Regions from separate parts of the Homo sapiens genome. Here regions 1, 2, 3, 4 and 6 are each linked to region 5. The links are contacts of gene promoters, found by promoter capture Hi-C in blood cells and fetal thymus (Javierre and others, 2016). All regions are on one chromosome and are shown on one strand. Each heading gives the region's core, a stretch centred on a gene start or on the middle of the fragment in contact. The rest is flanking DNA. Distances are from core to core; before and after follow the strand shown.

Region 1 (4,033 bases), core at 1,534-4,033, 280 kb before region 5:
CACGTGTGAGCCACCGAGCCCAGCTGGAAAACTCTTAAAAATATGAAAGTATAGGAAAATTTCAAGATAAAAAGTAAATATAAAAATAATATACGATAATATGTTGTTTTCTTATATATACCATAATAAACTAGAAAAAATAATTGTAAAAAATTCACATTAACAGAAATGACTTTAAAATCAAGCAAATTCTTGTGGTAAGATATTCAGTAAGTAAAAGGAAAGACAAAACTGTATACTTAAAATATGATCTCACTGTTACCACATACACATATAATAAACAGAAGGAAACTCTGAGCTATTGCAGTGGTTTTCAAAGAGTGGTAGTAATATAATGGGTTTTAGTGTTTTTCATTGGAGATTTTAAATGTTAACATATTACCTATATTATTTTTTTAATGATTATTAATATACTTTTTATGAATGATCGAATTATTCCCACCCTCTCAGTGGCTACGACTTGTAAATTTCAAAGTCCCTTGCCTTGCACGCTGCGGTAGTTGCTATCCACAGAAGAGCCTTGGGTGGGTTCTGGGAGTAGACAGCAGCTCTCCCAGGCTATTTTACTTCCTGTCAACCAAATTCCATTTCTGGTGATGAGCTATCTCCTGGCTTGCCAGTAAATGCCTTTTCTCTGACATCCTGAGGTGATTTGGGTCTTTTCTCCAGTTACCAAGAATGTGTCCAGTGGTCTCTGATCGCATTGCTGCTCCAATTGTCAAAGCACTATCAGATGGGTTTTGTGACTCTTAAAATCCTGAGATCGTTTCGGAGAATTCACACTACCTTCCTGCATCGTGTTTTTCTTTCTTTGTAAAGATGTTAGGAAATCCACCGGGCATTCATTCCTCGCTGATGCTCTATGAAAATGTACTGCAGTGAGTCTCAACCTCAGCTGCACAGTAGAAATATGTGGAGCTTCAAAAAAATCCTGGCCGGCCATGGTGGCTCACGCCTGTCATCCCAGCACTGTGGGAGGCCGAGGTGGGCGGATCATGAGGTCAGGAGATCGAGACCATCCTGGTTAACATGGTGAAACCCCGTCTCTACTGAAAATACAAAAAATTAGTCCGGTGCGGTGGCGGGCACCTGTAGTCCCAGCTACTCGGGTGGCTGAGGCAGGAGAATCGCTTGAACCCGGGAGGTGGAGGTTGCAGTGAGCTGAAATTGCGCCACTGCACTCCAGCCTGGGCGACTCCGTCTGAGACTCTGTCTCAAAAAAAAGAGTCAAGGTAGTCTCTAAAGACTGACCCGCAGTTTCATGTGGATAACGTGCATCTCACTGGAGTCTCTACAGCAAGAGGATGTCTCCAATGTGAGGCTGTCTCGATGACCAGCCTTCCAAATGAGGTCTCCACTGTGTGTGCTCAGGCCACGGGGAAGCTGCAGAGGGGATGCCACATGGATGAGAATGTGGATGCGGTAATCTCTAAGAGGTCCTTAAAGTTTTTTTTTTTTGTTTTTTGTTTTTTTGTTTTTTTTTGAGATGGAGTCTTGCTCTATCACCAGGCTGGAGTGCAGTGGCATGATTTTGATGATCTTGGCTCACTGCAACCTCCACCTCCCAGGTTCAAGTGATTCTCCTGCCTCAGCCTCCCGAGCAGCTGGGACTACAGGTGCCTGCCACCACGCCCGGCTAATTTTTGTATTTTTAGTAGAGACAGGGTTTCACCATGTTGACCAGGTTGGTCTCGAACAACTGACCTCATGATCCGCCCACCTCGGCCTCCCAAAGTGCTGGGATTACAGGCGTGAGCCACCGCATCCATCCAGGTCCTTAAAATTCTAAGATCACATGACTTGGGAGTGGGAAGAAATCATCTTCTGGTATGATTATCTTGATGAAATTGGTAATTGTAAATGCTTTGCAAATTGGCAAATCAGTGGGTAGGTAACAGCTCTGTACATATGTTCTTTTGAAGAAGATATTTTTGCGATAGTTTTCCTCCAAGTCCACTTCCCAAATATTTCAAGACTTGACGCCAGTTGCTGGCTGCTGAACTCATCTTTCCGTGAAACTTTCCCATCTCAAAAGGATCACTCTCCCTCTCACTCCTGCCTGTCTCTCTGTTTCTCTCTTTCCCTGTCTTTGCCTCCCTCCTGCTGCTTCTCTCCTAAACTCCCACACATATTATTTCATGCAACTTACTATGCTTTACCTTCCAGTTCAGTCATTGCTCTATAGAACATATCTTTCTTACATCTCTGTAAGTAATTCGAGGACAAAACATGTTTGATTCAGTCTTTTCAATAGCAGTAACCATCATAATACTTCAATATTTGTGAAACGAATTATCAATTGTTCTAACGTTCGTACAATTTCAGAGAAAGAGAGCATCAGTATAAGCTAGAGTTGTCATGGAAGACTTTCCGGACACATTAATATTTGGGCTAGACTTTCCTGGCTTAGTGTGCTTTAGGGGAGGTACAGGTTAAATGCAGGGTGCAAGGTTGTGGCAGGGACTCCTTTGTGTTAACAGGACAAGCAGGTCATGGACCAGTCCACATGCTTCTTTTTACTTAAACCTCCCAAAACAATACGGCCCTTAGGAGGGGCCACACCTTACAGACAAGTAAGTCATGGTCAGGGGTAGAAGAACCACTAAACAGCTGTTGCCAACCCTCAGACAGCTAGAGATACAATTGCTTAAAACCAGGGGGATTCTGGGATGACCTCAGGTCACCCTGAGACACCCAGAGGGTCTGACAGGGTCCCCACGAGGCCCACTGGGGAGCCCTCCTGCACGACCACTCTCGAGGCTCCCCTTACGAGCTGTGACAGCTCCCTGCTCTGGAACTCCAGCCCATCCCTCACGCGCCCAACATGACGAGGCTCAAGGACTTCGCTGGAGCGAGGGTTCCCCGCTGCCTGATGCAGTGGGTGCGGGCAGTGAACTGGTCTGAGCGAGTCTCCTCACACTCATGCTAACAGGCAGCAGGCTTCATCTGAGAGAGGCGAGCACGGGGAAAACCACAAAAGAACCCAGGACCTCCGGGCTGTAGTGCCAGGTCTTCCCCTAAATGGCTTTCCCTGTCAGGGGCATCCATCGCACCAGGCTTACTAAGCTGATGGCAACAGAAGCCCCTTCTCTATTCTGTAGGAGCAGAGGAAGGACTCAGGAGAACACTCACCCTGGCAAGGGCACGGAAGCCACTGAGGTTTCCTCAGGAAAGAAGGGGAGGAGCTGCACACACCCCGTTATCCTCCCGGAGAGCGAGTGAGGGGCTAATGACTGAGAAATGAGAGGAATCAAGCTGCTGTCTTCTCTGTACAGGGCTGTGTTCACTACAGCATTCTCCTCTGGGGCACTCAGAAACTGGCTCTCCTAGGAGAGAGAAGGATGGGGGGAGAGACACGGAAAAGGAGACACCTCAGGCCCTTCATACTCATGGCAACGATGCCTCACACCTTCTGGTATTTAGACTTTCTCACAAGGAAGGCTTTGCCTCTAGCCCTGGCTTTGTGGGCAGGTTGTTACGGCAGATGATGTCGGCTCTGCTTAATGTGGGTCACTGAGGCCTACAGGACTTGCCTATGTCCTCAAAGTCCCCCAGGAAGGGAGAGGTGCAGCTGGAGACTCTATATGGGCTTTCTAAGGAGACATTTTCTTTTCTTTTCTTTTTTCTTTGAGACGGAGTCTCGCTCTGTCGCCCAGGCTGGAGTGCAGTGGTGCGATCTCGGTTCACTGCAAGGTTCACGCCATTCTCCCAGGTTCACACCATTCTCCTGCCTCAGCCTCCCGAGTAGCTGGGACTACAGGCATCTGCCTCCACACCCAGCTAATTTTTTGTATTTTTTTAGTAGAGACGGGGTTTTACCATGTTAGCCAGGATGGTCTCAGTCTCCTGACCTCATGATCCGCCTGCCTCTTCTTTCTCAGATATCAACCAGGGCATTTGAGCAGAGACAAGCAAATTCCTGAACTTGTCTTGGACCTGGGGAGGGAGGAGGAGGAGGCCCCAGAAGGGATATAAGAGGGGAAAGTGTTCTTCAAAGCTGGTTTCCTGTTGAGCCCTCAGTAGTGAGGCGCTT
Region 2 (4,064 bases), core at 776-3,275, 300 kb before region 5:
GTCTTTGCTATCATGAATAGTGCTGCAATAAACATACATGTGCATGTGTCTTTACAGCAGCATGATTTATAGTCCTTTGGGTATATACCCAGTAATGGGATGGCTGGGTCAAGTGGTATTTCTAGTTCTAGATCCCTGAGGAATCGCCACACTGACTTCCACAATGGTTGAACTTTTCTTAATTTTTATGTCTGCATGTCTTTTTACCTGACCCAAACCTAAAATGAACTTTCTATTTGCTTACATACCATACTTTAGTTTATCTATATCTAAGAACTAAGTCATACCTAAGGCCCTAAAAGGACTTCTCAAGCATGGGGAAGGGAACCAAAGTCTGCTTAAGAACCTCACTCATTTGTTCACTCATTCATTTATATTAGTTATTTTGAAATTGTTTTAAAAATTGACACATAATGTACATATTTATTGGGTACAGTGTGATATTTTGATACATATATACAATGTACAATGATCAAATCAGGAAAATCAGCATTTCTATCACCTCAAAATTTATCATTTCTTAGTATTGAGAACATTCAAAATTCTCTCTTCTAGTTATTTGAAAAATGCAATAAATTGTTTACCAGAGTCATCCTACAGCGCTATAGAACACTAGAACTTATTCCTCCTATCCTATAATTTTTTATCTATTAACTAACCTCTATAACCCCACTTCTTCCCCTTCTCAGCCTCTAGCAGCCAATATTCTACTCTATACTTCTATACTGCCAACTTTTTAAGCTTCCACACACGAATGAGAATATGTGGTATTTATTTTTCTGTGCCTGACTTATTTATCAAAATATCCTTCAGGCTCATCCATGTTGCCATGAATGACAAGATTTTATACTTTTTACTGACTGAGTAGTATTCCATTGTGTATATATACACCATATTTTCATTATTCATCTGTTGATTGGCCACTTAGGTTGATTCCATATCTTGGCTAACATAAATAGTGCTAGGAGTGAAAATGTCTCTTGGACATACCTATTTTCTTTCTTTTGCATACACACCTAGTAATGGGATTGCTAGATCAATTGGTAGTTCTATTTTTAGCTTTTATGAGAACTTCCATACCATGTTCCATAATAGCTGTACTAATTTACATTCCCACCAACAACAATATATAAGAATTATCCTTCTCCATATCTTTGCCAGCATTTGTTATTTTTAGTTTTCTTGATAATACTCACATTAATTGGGGTGAGATGAGGTCTCATTTTGGTTTTGATTTGAATTTCCCTGATAATTAGTGATATTGGGCATTTTTTCACACACGTTGTTCATTTGTATGTCTTTTTTTGAGAAATGTTTATTCAGATCCTTTGCCCATTTTTTAACTTAGATTATTATTATTATTATTTGCTGTTGAGTTGAATTCCTTGTACATTTTGGATATTAAAACCTTACCAAATGAATAGCTTGCAAAGATTTTCTCCCATTCTACAGGTTTTCTGTTCATCCTGTTGATGGTTTTCTTGCTGTGCAGAAGCTTTTTAGTTTGATATAATCCAAGTTGTCTATTTTTTCTTTTGTTGGCTGTGCTTTTGAGGTATTATCCATAAAATATTTGCCCAGAGTAAGTTGCTGAAACATTTTCCCTATGTTGTCTTCTAGTAGTTGCATAGTGTTGGGTATTACATTTAAGTCTTTAATCAATTTTGAGTTAATATTTGTATATGGTGAGAGGTAGGGGCCTAGTTTTATTCTTCTGCATGTAGATATTCAGTTTTCACAGCACAATTTATTGAAGAGACTGACTTTCCCAGTGTATGTTCTTGGTGTTTTTGTTGAAAATTGGTTGGCTGTAAATACATGGATTTATTTCTGGATTCTCTATTGTGTTCCATTGGTCTGTCTGTTATTATACCTGTACCGTGCTGTTTTGATTACTATAGTTGTGTAGTGTAGTTTGAAGTCACGTAGTGTGATACAGTGAGTTTTTTTCTTTTTGCTCAGGATTGGTTTGGCTATTTGGGGTGTTTCGTGGTTCCATATAAATTTCAGGATTTTTTTTTTCTATTTCATGAAAGAATATCATTTCTATTTGATAGGAATTACATGGAATTGGTAGATTGCTTTGGGTAGTATGGTCATTTTAACAATATTATTTCTTCCAATCCATGAACATGGAATGTTTTTCCTTTTTTTTTTTTATCCTCTTCATTTTCTTTCATATAATTTTCCTTATAGAGATTGGTTAGATTTTTTTCCTAGGTAGTGGGATTGCTTTCTTGATTTATTTTCAGCTACTTTGTTTTTGGTGTATAGGAATGCTACTAATTTTTGTATGTTGATTTTGTATTCTGCAACTTTACTGAATTTGCTTAATTTAATTTAAATCTAAGACATTTTGGTGGGATTCTTAGGCTTTTCTATAGATAGGACTATTTATCTGCAAAGGACAATTTGACTTCCTTCTTTTTGGTTTAGATGCTGTCTATTTTTTCTCTTGTCTAACTGCTCTTGATAGGATTTCCAGTAGCATATTTAATAAGATTAGCAAGAGTACACATCCTTGTCTTATTCCAGTTCTTAGAGAAAAAGCTTTCAGCTTTTCTCCGTTCAACATGATATTAGCTGTGGGTTTGCCATATTTGGTCTTTATTGTGTTTAGGTACATTTCTTCTATACCTAATTTATTGAGAATTTTTTTCATAAAGTGATGTTGAATTTTATCAAATGCTTTTTCTGTGTCTATTGAGATGATCATATGGGTTTTGTCCTTCATTCTGTTAATGTGATGTATCTCATATGTTGATTTCCATATGTTGAGCCATCTTTGCATTCTTGAGATAAATCCACTTGAATCCACTTGAACATAGTGCATAATCTTTTTGATGTGCTGTTGGATTTTGTTTGCTAGTATTTTGTGAAGAATTTTTGCATCTATGTTCATCAGGGATATTGGCCTTTAGTTTTCTATTTTTGTTTTTTCGTCTTGTTTTAGTATCAGGGTAATGCTATCCTTATAGAATGTGTTTGGAAGAGTTTCCTCCTCTTCTGTTTTTTGAAACAGCTTGAAAAGAAATTGTATTAAGGGTTTTTTTTCTCTAAAGTTTTGAACAATTCAGCAGTGAAACCATTTGATCCTGGACTTTTTTGTTGTTGTTGTTGTTGGCAGATGTTTACTTACAGATTCAATCTTATTACTCATTATTGGTCTGTTCAGGTTTGTTTTTTCTTCTTGGTTCAATCTTTATAGGCAGTTTATCTTCAGGAATTTATCTGTTTCCTCTAGGTTTTCTAATTTGTTGGTATATGGTTGTTCATAATATTTTCTAATGATCCTTTGTGTTTCTGTGGTATCACTTATAATGTCTCCTTTTTCATTTCTGATTTTATTTATTTGGGTTTTCTCTCTTCTTAATTAGTTTAGCTAATGGTTTGCCAATTTTGTTAAACTTTTCAGGAAAATCAACTTTTCATTTTATTAATATTTCACATTTTTAGTCTCAATTTTATTTCTTTCTGCTTTGATCTTTATTATTATTTCTTTCCTTCTACTACTTTCAGGTTTGATTTGTTCTCACTTTTCTAGTTCCTTGAGGTATATTGCTAGGTTGTTTATTGGAAATATTTCTTATGTAGGAGTTTGTTACCATAAATTTCCCTCTTAATATTGCTTTTGCTGTATTCTATAGGTTTTGGAATTTTGTGTTTCTATTTTTATTTTATTTTAAGTTACAGGGCAAATGTGCAGGATGTACAGGTTTGTTACACAGGTAAATGTGTGCCATGGTGATTTGCTGCACCTATCAACCCATCACCTAGGTATTAAGCCCAGCAAGCATTAGCTATTTTTCCTAATGCTCTCCCTCCTACTGCCCCCCCACCCCAACAAGCCCCAGTATGTTGTATCCCTCTCTGTGTCTATGTGTTCACATTGTTCAGCTCTCACTTATAAGTGAGAACATATGGTGTTTTGTTTTCTATTCCTGCATTAGTTTGCTGAGGATAATGGCTTCTGGCCTCATCCATGTCCCTGCAAAGGACATGATCACCAGTGGCTCACGCCTGTAATTTCAGCTTTGGGAGGCCAAGGCGGGCAGATCACCTGA
Region 3 (4,268 bases), core at 170-2,669, 260 kb before region 5:
TCATATCATTTTTTCCTGATATATTTTTTATACCTATATTGTCTTTTCCAACCTGGCCTTACCCTAAAACAATCTTTTTATTTCCTTTATTATAGCAGTGAATTTTGGTCTCTGTAATGCTGTTTGCCTTAAATTCAACTTTGTTATTAAAAGATAAAGCATGCTATCTGCATTTATTACCATAACACATATTTTTCTTTATTATTGTTAAATAAATTTTTACATACCATCCTTTTAATATTATGACTTTTAAATTCTCGAGTTTTTAATTTTGACTAATTCCTTGGTTGGTTGCATTGCATCAAGTCATTTTTAAAGGACTAGTACATCCATGTTATATTTATTGAATTTTCACATATTTTAGATTTTTCTTTTGCATATGTATTTATATATCTGAAGGATGACTTAGCTAGGTATAAAATTTGTGGACATCTGTTCTCTCATCTATAACTCATTTTCTGAAATAGCTGTGAAAAAATCTGAAGTAAGGCTGATATTCTCTCTTTTCTCTACTTCTTATATGGTCATCTTTCCCCCCACTGATGCATGTAGGATTATTTTTTCATCAGTCTATATTTTTGTATTTGCTGACTTTTATTATAATTTTTTATAGCACAAAAGTTTCCTTTTGATTTTCAAGTCTGCACTTGCATTTCTAAACAGTTTTCTGCTATTATATCTGGAACATCATCGTTTCTTTTTTTCCTTATTCTGCACTTTAGTAAGACCAAGAATTTTGTAGCAAGTTTGAAGTTTATATGCCACAATCAATATACACGAAATGAGAGATTTGTTTTTAAAAATAAAAATGGAAAACAAAATTTATAATATTATAATTATGTAAATATTACCACTTCAGAAGCAAGATGTATGATTGAACTCATAGATTTAAAAAAAAATCCTACATTATTAAACCTGTGATAGTCAGAGCAAAGGTTACAAGCTTAATGTCAAATTAGTTTCCCTTTCTCACACTCCATAAATTTCTCAAATCAGGCCACATTCCATTTGCTCATTTTTGTAGCATATGTCAATTTCTCTCTGTTCCTCCCTCCCTCCCTCTCTTTCTTATTTATACTCTCCCCAACCCTATTTCTTTCTTTTTTATTCTTTTTTAATGGCTGAGCCTCTTGAGATAATGTTCAGACATCAAGACACTTCATCACTATATAATTTAGAGTTCTGAATCTCCTCAAAAGAACATTCTCGTATGTAACTACAATGTCGTTGTTATGTACGAGTCATTCAGTGCTGCTAGCAGAGACTTAGATGGTAGGTCCAGGGCAAGCAATCCACTGCTGAGTTCAGAGGCACTGAAGCTGTTTGAAGCATTGAAGAATCCTCGCTGGGAGCAGTGTACATTATACCTGGTATTATAGTTGATAAAGAATAAAGGGAGAGCAAAATCTTTTAATAGGATTACCTAGGGGTCCTATAATTTCCATTTTATTGCCATTTAGAGAATTAAAGAATGTTCTCATCCAGAGAGAGGATAAGATACAGCCTTGGCTGACTCTAACACATTTTGTTAAAGATGTAGCTTTTTATTTTATTCTGAGCTTTGATCAGGAACTGGTATTGATTTTTTAAGAAGCCTTTTTGCCTCTGATGAGGTAATCCTAAATGTTTAAATTGAACATATTAGTGTGATTTCAAATATGAAAAGATGGGATTATTTGTGCTTTAGACATCATTTTGATATCAATTTTCACAGATAGAACTGGTCTATAATTGTATTCGTGTCTTGTATTTTTCTTCTTTAGTAAATTAGCTATTTTAATTTTACTTAATTTTTGGTTCTGGAATGAATTATATAGAGCCTGGGGATTATTCCTTGAGCGTCTGAAAAGGGGAGTATTTGGTCCTTGAAATTTTGAAAAACCCAGAAAGCTTCCTCACCCAAGGATTTTTTTACTGTAATATAATTTAAATATAGTGCACGAATCTTAAGTGTACAGCTTGCTGAATTTGACACCCGTGTGACCACTGTACAGATCAAGATACAGAGGATTTATGTCACTTCAGAAATTTTCCTTGTGCCCCCTCCTCGTGAGTCCCCACCCACATCCAGAGGTAATGACTACTCTGGTTTCTACTGCCAGAGAGAAATTTGCCAGCTCATGAACTTTGAATAGATGGAATCATACAATATTTTTTTTTCTGGATTCTTTTACTCATCATAATGTTTTAAAGATTTATCTATGTCGTGTGAATCATCAGAGTTCAATCTTTTTCACTGCTACATAGTACACCATTGAAATGATTATGCCACCGTACTTATTCTTTCTGCTGATGAACATTTGGGTTTTTCAGTTTTAGCTACTATGACTGAAGCCTCTGTGAGAATTCTAATACACATCTTTTGTTTTCATTTATTTTGGGTACTTCAGGAGCAAAATTTCTGGGCTGTAGGCTGGGTAAATATTAAAACTTTGGGCACTGCAAATAGTTTGCAGAACAGTTTTATTCTTTTACATTCTTACTAGCAATATATGAGGGTGTTAATTTCTCCACATCCTTGCTAACATTTGATACTATCAATCTTTTGTTTCTAGCTATTCTGATGGGTATGTAGTAGTATCTTACGATTTTAATTTGTATTTCCCTGATGAATAATAATGTTGAATATGTTTTCATATGCTTGTCGGCTTCGAGACTTTCATTAGAGATAATTTTTTGGCTTATTTTATATTATTAGTCTAAGTTTTCCCTCCTCAAATATTTATTTTAATGGTCTAGTCAGACATTGTATATATTGAGCCAGGTTTTGCAGTTTGTCTTTGCGTAGAAGTCTTATTTTGATTTTTAAATTTACTTGAGAAGTTTTAGAAAGATTTAAAAAATCTTCCTTTGTGATTATATTCTTTTTAAAAGTGCTTGCCATGTAACAGTTCCTCACTAAATGTTAGCTTTATTTTTATTTTTTTTGAGACAGAGTCTCACTCTGTCGCCTAGGCTGGAATGCAGTGGTACAATCTCGGTTCACTGCAACCTCCACCACCTTGCGGGTTGAAGTGATTCTCCTGCCTCAACCTCCCCAGTAGCTGGGATTACAGGCGCCCTTCACCACACTCAGCTAATTTTTGTATTTTTAGTAGAGACAGGGTTTCACCATGTTGGCCAGGCTGCTCTTGAACTTCTGACCTCAGGTGATCCACCTGCCTCGGCCTCCCAAAGTTCTGGGATTACAGGCGTGAGCCACCATGCCCGACCAGCTTTTATTATTTTTATTGCAAGAATTTCCATTACAACCTTGCAATAGTGAAAAATTAGAAAAACATAAATATTTATTAATAAGGGAGTGATTAAACTGTGGAAGATCCACAGTATAGGATTGTATAGCATGAAGTTAAGAATGAAGGCATTCTATTTGTGGTAATAAGACAAGATCTTCTAGATGTATTGTTTCATAAAAAAAGGAAACTGAAGAATAATAGATATAAATAGAATGACACTATTTATGTTTCAAGATCAGAATAATATATATAAATAGAATGACACTATTTGTTTCAAAATCAGAGCGAGAGAGCAAGAGTGAAGGTGAGAGCAAGAGTGAAGGTGAGAGCAAGAGATTCAACTGATAATTGGGATGGCGGTAGAGGTTGATTTGGGTGGTAGTCAAACAGAACTTCAACTCTGAATTTTTACATTAAAAATGGTTGATACAGTATCTAGGAAAAGAATTTAAATTATTTTAAGCCACTTAAAAAATAACTGGATCTTGAAGTTTCTCCAGGAGGAGTCTGCAGGGGCATCCAACAACAAACACCTCTTTAAGATCCTCCCCTGGGCTGGATGCGGAGGCTCACGCCTGTAATCCCAGCACTTTGGCAGGCCCAGGCAGGGGGATCACTTGAGGCCAGGAGTTCGAGACCAGCCTGGTCAACATAGTGAAACCCTGTCTCTAGTAAAGAAAACACAAAAAAAATTAGCCGGGTGCGGTGGCAGGTGCCTGTAATCCTGGCTACTTGGGAGACTGAGGCAGGAGAATAGCTTGAACCCGGGAGGCGGAAGTTGTAGTGAGCCGAGATGGCACCACTGCACTCAGCGTGGGCGCCAGAGGGAGGCACTATCTCAAAAAAAAAAAAAAATTATCCATTGCTTCACAGGCTTCCCGTCCACCCACCGGGTTCCTGCTAGTCACACTCTTTCTTCTCCCTCTTCACAAACTATTTGTCTACCTCCATTTGCTGTCTTTTCATTTACCCAAAATTTAAAAGTAGAATCTATCTCACACATTCAGATAACACACGAATTCAACCTACTAT
Region 4 (4,132 bases), core at 1-2,500, 320 kb before region 5:
AGTCATAAATTGCCATATAAATGAATTTTTCATTATTAATTTTTTTTGTAATTAAGAAACCATATAGAAACAAATGCTTTTTTTTTGCACTATTACAGCTACAGAGATGGTAACAAAAATACCAGCTTGAAAACTTGGAATAAAAATGATTTTAAGCCTCAATGTAAACGAACAAACTTAGTGGCAAATGATGGAAAAAATTCTTGTCCAGTGAGTTCGGGAGCTCAACAACAAAAACAATTAAGAATACCTGAACCTCCTAACTTATCTCGCAACAAAGAAACCGAGCTACTCAGACAAACACATTCATCAAAAATATCTGGCTGCACAATGAGAGGGCTAGACAAAAACAGTGCACTACAGACACTTAAGCCCAATTTTCAACAAAATCAATATAAGAAACAAATGTTGGATGATATTCCAGAAGACAACACCCTGAAGGTAAATGTTTAAATACAAATTAATGACTTATTTACATTTTTAAAAATATGAGGTAAATATTTAGAAAACTACAGAGATAAGAGCGCCTGAAATAAATTCCATGACATACATTACTTGATTAGCATAAATATTCAGTTCCATTGAAGTGGATGAATGTTAGTTTCCAAAATATTTTCTTAGAGGGTATGAATGGCTGCTCCTTTTCCTTTCAAACTTTAGAGTTTTCTGCTGGATTCTGACTTTCACTTTACACTCATTTTAAAGATAAAGACAGTTTATCCATTGTTTATGAAGTTACCCAGGCTCTTGATATGTCATTCTAAGTATTTTTCAACAGAGGTCAGCAAACATTTTTCTTAAAGGGCCAGACAGTATTTTTGGCTTTATGGGCCGTACTGTCTCTGTTGCAGCTACTCAGCAATACTACTCAACTCTGCCACTGTAGCTTGGAAGCAGCCATAAGCAATACATAAATGAATGGACACTGCTCTCCTCCAACAAATGTTTACACAAATAGATAGCAGGTTAGATTTGCACTGCAGGCCATAGTTTTCTTTATGATCAACTTATTATGACCTTTGCTTTATGATCTTGTCCTAGTCTACCTTTGTAGCCTCATATTTCATAGTCTACTAATTGTCCAATGCTCTAGCCACTTCAGACTCGTCACAATTCTCTAAACATAGCATACACTCTGTGCTTTGGTTTATATTCTTCCCTATACCTGTATCTCAACTGTACTTCCTCTCTACGCTCAGTGCTCTGATTGCTCTTTGTAAATGTTATTTATATATTATGTGTGCTGGTTATTCCTCATCTCTGCTCCCTGGCCCCTTGGCCCACTTGATTCTTCACCTGCCCTTCTCTGTTGTGGAAGGCTGAACTGTCCTATGTAGTGCATCATCCTGAGATTGTTTACTTGCTGGCTTTTGCTAGAGGTCAGCCAGTAGGAGTCACTGGTACGACATCATAGGGTGGGAGGAAAGGTTGGGTTTTCTCACTTTCTCCTGTCTTAAATGTTACATCACCAGCAGTGGCTGTGTCACTGCATGATGTAGCCCCTTCATGAGTATAGCTTTCCTGGGCGTGATACTTTTATTTTCTCCTCTTGTCCTTTCAGCCTAGGAATGGTAACAACTTCTTACAGTTGTTAGTTTTTGTTCTGCCCTTATGTCTGAAAAAGCAATCTTTTCAAAAAGCCATCGGGGTAAAATTTGTTTTTGCATGTTTTGTTTTTTGTTGGAAATAAGATTAATAAAGCATGTTTCACAGTGGTTCTCAATCTTATGTTTCCTTGTACTCAAGAATTATATGACATAATCACCTTAGTAACAGTGGTTTACTGTGGCCATCATCAACAGGAGGCATGTTAGAATCTTCGTTAAGCGGGGGAAGAGGGAAGAAACTACCTGTATTTTGAAAAAAGGTCCCATCATATGTTCTTCACAACCCTCACCCTCACAAAGGAAAGCGTCCCCTTGCCTTTGAAAATTAGTATTTTAACACACTGTATTCTTAGTTGATCTTCAAAAATGCTAAGAACATTTCCATCTCAGGGCTTTTATACTTGCTGTTCCCACTGTCCTCATTCAACAACCCACTTAAAATAATAACCCCCATCTCTCTCTCTTTCCATTTACCTTGTGTGTTTTTTTCCTAAAAAAAAAGTACATTTCCTGACATTCTGTTATATGTTTACTTATTTTTTAAATCCTCCACTAGACAATAAAATCTTCGAGGACAGATATCTTGACTGTTTTGTCCATGAATTTTTCCTAAATAGCTATGTTTGGCATGTAGTAGGTGCTCAGTAAACACTTTTGAAACGAATGAATGAATGAATGTGTCTGGCTCCTTCCCTAGAGTCCCCTAGAGTGTGAGTGCACTAGGGAAAGGAATGGCCTTACCTATATTTGTCACAGGATCTGGCATATGATGCTTTAAAATAGTCAATGAATGAATGAGTGAATGAATACCTATATAAATAATTCTCCTCTTGATTGTCTCTAAGTGCACCCTGGTTTCTCCATCTGTAATATAGTATTGATGGCCTTATTTTAGGGAAGTAACTATACTAAAATTTTCAGTAGTTCTTTTTACACACTTGTCCATTGTAAGGACTTAGAATTTTTACGTAGAAGGTAAACGAGTATGATGAAAAAAACAAATATTTTTCTAATACTATGTTTCTTATTTTTTCAAAAGGAAACCTCATTGTATCAGTTACAGTTTAAGGAAAAAGCTAGTTCTTTAAGAATTATTTCTGCAGTTATTGAAAGCATGAAGTATTGGCGTGAACATGCACAGAAAACTGTACTTCTTTTTGAAGTATTAGGTAGGTAAAATACTTTAAAAATACTTCAGTAATACTCTCTGGAGGACAGGTTTTAATGTCTGATTAGTCCTTTTTCTTCCAAATAAAACAGTCTGCTTTTTGCTACTCCCTAAAGTGTATTCAAAGAACTGGTTTTAATAATAGTCCCTGTGGTAGATAGAATAATGCTCCCTAAAAATGTCTACATTCTAATTACCAGAATAATGCACCCTAAAATGCCTACATTCTAATTACCAAAACCTGTGAATGCTACCTTATATGGCAAAAGAGACTTTGCAGATGTAATTAAGTTAGGGATCTTGAAATGGGAAGATTATCTTGTATTATTTGGGTGGGTTCAATGTAATCACAAGGGTCCCTTATACAAGGAAAGCATTGAAAGATGCTACCTTGCTGGCTTTGAAGATGGAGGAAGGGGCCATGAGCCAAAGAATGCAGGCATCTTTGAGAAGTTGGAAAAATTAAGGAAATAGATTTTACTCTAGAGCCTCCAAAAGGAACATGGCTTTGATGACTCATTATAGACTTCTGACCTCCGTAACTATTAAGATAATGCTTTTGTGTTGTTTTAAGCCAACCACTAAGTTTGTGGTAATTTGTAAGCAGCAATGGGAAACTGATACAGCCTCCTCCTTTTCCTTTTGTCCTGTTATATATATATATGTAAATATAAATGTGTGTATATATAGATGTAGATTTCTATCAGTGCAGTCATTTCACATGTTTAACTTTCACCTAAAAATGATTCCAGTTTCTCTCTTGTTACCATTAAGGAAAAAGCTTTATTATATAAAGTGACATTGGATTCAATAGAGACTCAGACTTTGAGTAAAGCACGCTGTATTCATTTTCAATTGCTGCGTAACAAAGTAATGGAAACTTAGCAGCTAAAAACCACACCCACTTCTTAACTCAAGTTTTGTAGATCAGAAGTCCATGTGGGCTTGACTGCGTTCTATACTCAGGGTATCACAGTGCTAAAATCAAGGTGTTGGCTGGGCTGGTTTTGTTCAGTTTTCGTTTTTGGCTTTTTGGAGGTTTCCATGCCTCTGGCCTCTGGAACTCCCATATACTTCAGGGATTCTTTATCAAGTCCTACTCATGTTGCTTGAAGCATATCTCTTAGCTGGTTGGCATGACTGTTACTACTCTGTTGAAGCTTGACTTAGCTCTTATTTTGTTCAGTTCTTACCAGTAGCCACGTAACTGCAATAGCAGATGGTATTCTATTTCATGTCAGTTTTCTGTCAGAGCTAGAATACTGTCAGAGGTAGAACATCTTATTTCAAAGATCTTAACCCCTGTTGGACTTCCCACTAAATTGCTTTTTCCTGTGTGAAAGATGCCTTTGGCTCT
Region 5 (3,854 bases), core at 712-3,211:
ACAAATCCATAGGTTATATTAAACTCTGAAGGTAAAAAAAAGCGGCACAGGGAAACTGATTCCGTGGGTTAATCACTCAGCTGAAACACTGTTCCATCCCAAGAATTTCACCTAGAAAGAATGCATTTGTTTGGAACACTTATCTCTCTGTAACCGTAGTGTTTCCCTACATATTCCTATGGCCAGGACTCCATTAACTCAAAGCTACCACTGAACCTACTAACAAAAAGGTTGGCTGGGTGTGGTGGCTCATGCCTGTAATCCCAGCACTTTGGGAGGCCGAGGCAGGTGGGTCACCTGAGGTCAGGAGTTCAAGTCCAGCCTGGCCAATGTGATGAAACCCCATCTCTACTAAAAATACAAAAAAAAAAAAAAAAAAAATAGCCAGGTGTGGTAGCAGTGGCCTGTAATCCCAGCTACTCAGGAGGCTGAGACAAGGGAATCACTTGAGCCCAGCAGGTGGAGACTGCAGTGAGCTGAGTTCGTGCTACTGCACTCCAGCCTGGGTGACAGAGTGAGACTCCATCTCAAAAATCATAACAATAATAATAAAGGTTCAGGCTAATTCTTATGCCTGATATTACCTCTATAGCAAAGCCCCTTTCCATTCTTCCCACTCTTTCCATTCTCTGGGGTTTATGTATTTACATGATAGATTCATACTGAGCATCTGTGTTGTACCAGCCTCAAGGCTAATGCTAGATTTCAAAGCTGAGCCAATTAGGCACCATCTCTGCCTACTCCCAGTGATGCTCACAGCAGAATGAGGGACACTCATATAAACAGACACTCAGAATCCAAGGTGACACGTGCTGTGATGGGGGAGGCACTGCATTAGGAAGGTCACGAACCTGAGTTTCTGGTGAGAGGATGAGTTGGGAAAGACTTCCCAGAAGAGGTGACATCTAAGGTGAGACCTGAAGCTTAGCTCGTCTGATAAATGGGATGGGAAAAACTATTTCAGCCTGAGAAAGCCTAAAGGTGAGGGAGTATCTGGGCCTTTAAAATAATTGAAACTATGATTAGTGCATAAAGTGTGGAGTGGAGGAGGGAGTTTCATGAGGAACTGGGGATGTCTGTAATAAATGACGGTAAGATCCAGGACATTCAGCCGTGTTCAGTTTAGAGTTTATCCTGGGAGTAATGAGGAGTGTATGAAGGATTTTTCAAGCAGAAAGACAAGAGTCGAATTTGATTTTTAGCAAGCCTATTCTCTGTGTATTTAGAACAGCAGGTGGCAGGTGGGCATACCTGGGGGCATGGAGATCAACTGCCCAAATCCAAGTGAGAAATCACAGTGCCCTGAATGACATGAGCTGCAGCTGGGACTGATGGTGACCAGTAAACAGAGAGACGTCAGTAAATTGTAGCCATATTGAGAAGGTAAAATTGCCAGGCTTTGGTGGTGGTTGGATGTAGGCAGGGAGGGAGAAACGTGGGTCAATAATGACGCTCAGGTTTCTGGCCAGACCCGCTGTGTAGATAACAGTGATAATGATTTCCATGTTAGCCATGCTTTTCCCAATTCCAAAACCCCTTTCCAGGAGCTGTCTTTTTAATTATTGGTACAATGGGCTCATTTGACCTGTAAAATCTTGGGTTGTATAAATGTCATAGTTTCTACATGAACACTACCAGAGCAAAGCCAGCAAGCCCCTCCAGCCCAGCCCCAAAATACACATATTGGCTTAATGCTTATGGAATAAATTTAAAAGCCTCTCATTGCATTACAAACAAATCTGTGGTTTCTCATAGCACCAAGCACAGGAATTTGCAAATATTTAGTCGAACCCTATGAAATGGCCATTTTTGCAGGTCCCAAAGAGTCAAATAGTGGAGATTTCCTATGATCCAACCTCACACTAGAAGATCAACACTGGAATATTGCATAATTTTCAGAGTTCACAATCCAGGGCTTACCAACGTCACCCAATTAACCCAACTTTCTTCCTACAGACAAATGGAGGGGAAAAATCTGACCAGCATCTCAGAATGTTTCCTCCTGGGGTTCTCTGAGCAGCTGGAGGAGCAGAAGCCCCTCTTTGGGTCCTTCCTGTTCATGTACTTGGTCACGGTGGCAGGCAACCTCCTCATCATTCTAGTCATCATTACTGACACTCAACTCCATACCCCCATGTACTTCTTTCTAGCCAACCTCTCCCTTGCAGATGCCTGCTTTGTGTCCACCACAGTCCCTAAGATGCTGGCAAACATACAGATCCAGAGTCAGGCCATCTCCTACTCAGGGTGTCTACTACAGTTGTATTTTTTCATGTTATTTGTGATGCTGGAGGCATTCCTCTTGGCGGTCATGGCCTATGACTGCTACGTGGCCATATGCCACCCACTTCATTACATTCTGATCATGAGCCCTGGGCTCTGCATCTTCCTCGTGTCTGCATCCTGGATCATGAATGCCCTCCACTCCCTTCTACACACACTTCTGATGAACAGCCTGTCCTTCTGCGCAAACCATGAGATCCCACACTTCTTCTGTGACATCAATCCCCTCCTGAGTCTGTCCTGCACAGACCCCTTCACCAATGAGCTGGTGATCTTCATCACTGGGGGTCTCACAGGACTCATTTGTGTGCTTTGCCTGATTATCTCTTACACGAACGTTTTCTCGACCATCCTGAAGATCCCATCAGCTCAGGGGAAGCGGAAAGCCTTTTCCACCTGCAGCTCTCATCTCTCCGTGGTCTCTCTCTTCTTTGGGACTTCTTTTTGTGTTGATTTCAGTTCTCCCTCAACCCACTCGGCCCAGAAGGACACAGTTGCATCAGTGATGTACACAGTGGTAACTCCAATGTTGAATCCCTTTATCTACAGTTTGAGGAACCAAGAAATAAAGTCTTCCCTGAGAAAGTTAATCTGGGTTCGGAAAATTCATTCCCCTTAGTGGTAGTGACTTGACATCCAATATGGGGGTCTCCATGCACCTGCGTTCACCACAGTAAGCAGTGAAGAATGAAAGATGGAGAGAATCTAGAGACCTCTGTTCCAGTACCTACGATCTGAACCTGAAATATTCATGTCTAAGCTACAGGACTGCATCATAACCCATCATCAGGCCAATGTCACAGGTGAAGTTCTTACAATTATGTTCTAAAACCACAGCCATCCAGATGTATAATATAATGTCATGCCTTATTATATTTACTATAGTTAATAATATTGATGATTTAATAATGTTATTAGTTAATGCTTTTTAAACAACATGGGACAGCTCATGACTGAAATAAGGGAATATCTGGCTGGGCTGTTGTATAGGGCCAAGAATAAAATTCAGGGAAGGACGACCTTCCCCCAGCATCACTGTGATCCTGATCACTCGGATCCCCACCCACAGTGTTTCTGCCACAGGCACTGCCCGTATCTGTGATGCTCCCATGCTCAGTGATGAGGAACTGGGTCTAGGAAGGGCTTGATGGAGATGGCATCTTCAGACAGACTCACTGCAGTGTCTTACCAGGCCTCCAAGACCCATAATCCTCCTGCCACCTTAGACTTCATGTGAAAACCTCAGGTTCCTCTTCAGGGCAATTTTTTCCACACTCATTTCATCTCTGCAGCCCCAATGCTTACCACATGGCGTAATGCCTGGTACCATTGATAGGTGCTGAATCCCACTGAAATGGTTACAACTTAAAGTTAGGGGAAAAGAATGATTTTTATGGACACTTTATGCTCTCCTGCCTGAATGATTAAAGCCTCCTCCTAGTTGGTCTTCAGTCCTCAGTCTACCCGCCTTCCATCAACTCTGTACACCATAATCAGATTAATCTTCATAGGGTACCATTATATCACTAAGAGAAATGTCCAGTGGCTTGAAACTGCCTGCAGAATCAACT
Region 6 (3,972 bases), core at 116-2,615, 340 kb before region 5:
ATGAAGGGAGGACTTAGTCTTTTTTTTTTTTTTTTTTTTTTGAGATGGAGTCTGGGTCTTGTTGCCCAGGCTGGAGTGCAGTGGCACGATCTCAGCTCACTGCAACCTCGGCCTCTCGGGCTCAAGCGATTCTCCTGCCTCGGCCTCCCGAGTAGCTGGGATTACAGGCGCCCGCCACCACTCCTGGCTAATTTTGTATTTTTAGTAGAGATGGGCTTTTGCCATGTTGGCCAGGCTGGTCTTGAACTCCTGACCTCAGGAAGACTTAGTCTTTGATATTATATAATCCAGGCATTTCAAACTGATGCAAAGGCAGATGTCCTGCACAATGCCTTAAAGTGGGGCATGGAGGAAGTTCCCGGTGGCTAAATACTGTGTTTCCTCCTTGGCCTTGGAAGCATGTACGTTTGCCAACGCTGTGGTCCATTTTCCTCTTTGTAGGTGTGGTTCAGAATTCTCTTTGTGGGTGCGGGATTCTGAAATAAATTACATATACTGTGTGAAAAAATGCACATATGTTTACGAAGCAAGGTTACAGTTGCCCTAGTCATAACTTAATTTGAACAGGGTTGGAAAAGTGGATTATGGTGTAAACTCTTAGAAAGCAAAGGACTCCCTAAAGTGTTTACGTGATCAGGTTTGAAAGTAGTTTACAACCATAATTTCAGTAATCACTGGGCTGAGGATTGGGTTTTATAGTTGAGACAATACGAGTTATAAGTTTCTTTCTTTGCAGGTCTAGTGGGACAATGTCATATTATAAATTTGGAATGCTGAATAGAAAATTATAGATTTTGATATTGAAGGAAATGAAGCGAAGCCTAAATGAAAATTCAGCTCGAAGTACAGCAGGTATTGAACAACTTTTTATTTTTAAATTTTCTGTATAGCATATAAAGCTTGTATAGTTTATAGATATAACATTGGAAATAAATTTAAAATAGATTGAACAGTTAATCTAGCCTCTTTACTTTTTAGGTCCAAGGAAGTAAAATAACTTACTCAAGACAAAACATTTAGTGGTAGAGGTGGGAGTAAGATCAAAGTTTCTTAGATTTATTTTGATATTCTTTCTACAAATTCGATGTGCTTGAGTTATTCTATGCTTTAAAACTGAAAACAAAGAAATAGATCTATTTTTGTTTGTATTTGTGACTTACTTGTTAAAAATATTTCCGGAAGCACTTCTGTCTTTCTAATAGCTTCTCCTATCATTTTTGCTTTCCCAATTTATTAGTATAAAGACAGATGGCAAGGATGATGAGAACCAGGGGAATGATGATGCATAATGAAGATAATAGTAACTATTATTTATGGTGGATTAACTGTATTCAAGACATTAATTATATATATTAATTTATTTAATCTTTACACCAATACCCTGAGATAGGTTATTATAATCATTTCTGTTGTTCAGATGAGAAAAACAAGGCTAAAAGAGGTTAAATAAGTAATCCATGAAGTAGCAGAATCAGAATTTGAACCTAGGAATCTGGCTCTTAGTCCATGCTCTTAATCATTATGCTATCAGTATATGTCATATTGGCACAAAGAGTTTAGGGAAATTGCCCAAGATCATACTCTGAAATTGTAATTCAAACCTACTTTGAAGTCATAATTCAAGACCTAGGCGGTCTGATTCCAGAGCCCACATAATTCTCCCAGCCTTTCATCAGAGACTGTTCACAGAGTCTGTATTTGCCTGTAGAACAATTGATGATGACCAGTTAGAGAATGGTACAGTGGCAAGAGATCCAAACTGATATTTAGGAATCTTGTGTCCTATCTAGATTCTTCCACTGACTTGCTCTATAGCAATGCACAAGCTTTTTGAACTTCTTTTCCCTTCGAGTTCCCTAAGTTTCAAAGTTTATATTTTGTGACTTTTGACCTGAATTGAGATCCTAGATCCGCCATCTGGAGGAATCGGTAGTAGTATTTATTCTCATTTGGACTGGATATTATTACTCTTTAAGGCATTCTCAAAATGATCCACAAAATATATAATTACAGATACCCGAGGTGCTTGTTAAAATTGCAGAGTTTTGAGTTCCAGGCTAAATCTGTTGAAATAAAATCTATGAGAGTGGAGTCTAGGAACTGCACATTAAGCAGAATTCCAGATAAATCTTAGTCCAATGAAACTTTGAGAACCAAGGCCCAAAAGGGTGTGCCACTATTGTCCAAAGCATGGTTCAGAGTTTGGTTCTTCCTCACCTCTGTTGTACTTCAAAGGTCCCCTGCAGTCGATATGGTAACAGGCAAGCACAGGAGGGGGATAAGGAAAACAAAAAGTGGATTTGGAAAGGTTGGGGGATGAGGGGGGAGATGGGAATTACTTCCATATGGGAGGAATTAAAACTGTTAGAGTAGAATAAGAAAAGTTTTTTGAAGAAACAAATTAGGCTATTCAGGATCTTAAAAAGAATGTAAAAATCATTCTAAGGTTATAGAAATCTATAAGTATATTAGCATATAGAAGTAGATAAATGTAAAGTGTGTATTATACTAGTAATTATTTTACAACTAGATCTGCTTATTTGTCTATTATGTACTAATTTATTGGTACATTCAATTTAGGCTGTTTGCCTGTTCCGTTGTTCAATCAGAAAAAGAGGAACAGACAGCCATTAACTTCTAATCCACTTAAAGATGATTCAGGTATCAGTACCCCTTCTGACAATTATGATTTTCCTCCTCTACCTACAGGTAAGAAAATTAATAAGGTAAAAATTTTCAGGAAATACAAAACTAGGATTATAGAAAATTGTAATTTATATTATAATGAAAATAGAAAGTTTATTTTTTCTTCTTTCCATTATCCACATATAGAAATTACATAGCACTTTCTGAACATTCCAGGTCAGGAGTTTAAGTTTCCTTATCTACAAGGGTGGCTTAGCATTTAAATGGAGTATCTTAGATTTGGAGTCTTTGTTCTAATAAAGTAGTAACATATATTGTAAAAAATATTTTTTCTTTGTCAAAATTCACGTGGATATTGTGTTATAGCCTATACATTTGGTGGTAAAGAATGGAAACACTTGAATTGCCTCAGGAGTGGGGATAAGTGTGCATGGGAACACAGGAAAAATGGGAAAAAAAAGATAGATTTTAGGAAGTGCAGATGCCTGGAAGTATCTGGTGCCTGGCCGTAGTCTTTTTCTCTTTTTATGGCATTTTTGCCTTCATTGATTTGTTAGCTGTTTATGGTCCAAATGTGATCCCCCCCAATTTATATGTTGAAACTTAATTGCTGGTGTGATAGTATTAAGATGTGGGGCCTTCAGGAGGTAATTAAGTCATGAGGGCAGAGCCCTCATGAATGAGATTAGTGACTTTATAAAAGGTATGAGGGAGCTTTTCCGTCCTTCTGTCATGTGAGGACACAGTAAGAAGCCTTGACTTCCCAGCCTCCAAAACTGAGAAATACATTTATCATATTTGTAAATAACCCGTTCTAAAGTATTTTGTTATAGTAGAGTCCAAAGGGACTAAGACACACCTTCATCCAGTTGGCTTCCTTACAGCTTCAACTGGCACATGAGCTAAGTTGCCCTTCCTGTGAGTTTGCATAACCTTTTAGTTCTAGTTCTCAGAGGTCACCAGTAGACTGCCCTCTGGATCTCTTAATTCACATCCTAGAGACAGCTTGTGATTCAGCTCATCTTTTAAGTAAGGCCACTGAAATCCTGGCTTAGGTTTGGGTTAGGCCTCTTACCTCTGAACCAGTTAGCTGAGGTTTGGTGGGTGCTGGGAGGTCTTAATGGTTGTTGTTGACTTTTTACTTTCCTCTGGAAGAGGAATGGGCAGGCAGACATTCTGAAGTATACGTGGTACATGCTGGTTATATACATTTACATTTTGGGGGCACATTTTAAAAATTAATAGGATCTTATATAGCTAGAATTTAAAAATATCTCTGATGTAGCAATACTTGTATTGTTAATTTCATCTAGTGTGCTCCCATAG

What was found. The method cuts DNA at HindIII sites, captures the fragments that hold promoters and counts their contacts. A CHiCAGO score of 5 or more calls a contact.
Region 1: a fragment that was not itself captured here is called in contact with the fragment with the promoter of OR1G1 in region 5 in 6 of 17 cell types (M2 macrophages, M1 macrophages, M0 macrophages and 3 more); the score reaches 12.0 in M2 macrophages.
Region 2: a contact is called between a fragment that was not itself captured here and the fragment with the promoter of OR1G1 in region 5, in 4 of 17 cell types (M1 macrophages, M0 macrophages, endothelial precursors and 1 more). The highest score is 11.5, in M1 macrophages.
Region 3: a contact is called between a fragment that was not itself captured here and the fragment with the promoter of OR1G1 in region 5, in 8 of 17 cell types (M1 macrophages, endothelial precursors, M0 macrophages and 5 more). The highest score is 15.6, in M1 macrophages.
Region 4: a fragment that was not itself captured here is called in contact with the fragment with the promoter of OR1G1 in region 5 in 8 of 17 cell types (M1 macrophages, M2 macrophages, M0 macrophages and 5 more); the score reaches 15.5 in M1 macrophages.
Region 6: a contact is called between a fragment that was not itself captured here and the fragment with the promoter of OR1G1 in region 5, in 11 of 17 cell types (endothelial precursors, M2 macrophages, M1 macrophages and 8 more). The highest score is 19.7, in endothelial precursors.

Annotation. Positions count from the first base shown.
Region 1 is chr17:3,411,271-3,415,303 of GRCh38, reverse strand. OR3A3 (olfactory receptor family 3 subfamily A member 3) reads right to left here and starts at 3,934. Exons shown (of 3, transcript NM_012373.3): 1 at 3,820-3,934; 2 at 3,133-3,326. The HindIII fragment of the contact is 6,248 bases long and covers 1-4,033 here.
Region 2 is chr17:3,427,885-3,431,948 of GRCh38, reverse strand. No RefSeq gene overlaps it. Among named protein-coding and RNA genes, the nearest start is that of OR1E2, 3.9 kb to the left of the region's middle. The HindIII fragment of the contact is 1,055 bases long and covers 1,498-2,552 here.
Region 3 is chr17:3,387,045-3,391,312 of GRCh38, reverse strand. No RefSeq gene overlaps it. Among named protein-coding and RNA genes, the nearest start is that of OR3A2, 2.9 kb to the right of the region's middle. The HindIII fragment of the contact is 947 bases long and covers 946-1,892 here.
Region 4 is chr17:3,445,116-3,449,247 of GRCh38, reverse strand. It overlaps SPATA22 (spermatogenesis associated 22), which reads left to right. Exons shown (of 9, transcript NM_001170698.2): 6 at 99-441; 7 at 2,647-2,776. Among named protein-coding and RNA genes, the nearest start is that of OR1E2, 13 kb to the right of the region's middle. The HindIII fragment of the contact is 4,617 bases long and covers 1-3,558 here.
Region 5 is chr17:3,125,658-3,129,511 of GRCh38, reverse strand. It overlaps OR1G1 (olfactory receptor family 1 subfamily G member 1), which reads left to right and starts at 1,961. Exons shown (of 1, transcript NM_003555.1): 1 at 1,961-2,902. The coding sequence starts at 1,961. The coding sequence ends at 2,902. The HindIII fragment of the contact is 3,090 bases long and covers 926-3,854 here.
Region 6 is chr17:3,466,163-3,470,134 of GRCh38, reverse strand. SPATA22 (spermatogenesis associated 22) reads left to right here. Exons shown (of 9, transcript NM_001170698.2): 2 at 737-852; 3 at 2,581-2,709. The coding sequence starts at 810. Among named protein-coding and RNA genes, the nearest start is that of SPATA22, 3.7 kb to the left of the region's middle. The HindIII fragment of the contact is 927 bases long and covers 902-1,828 here.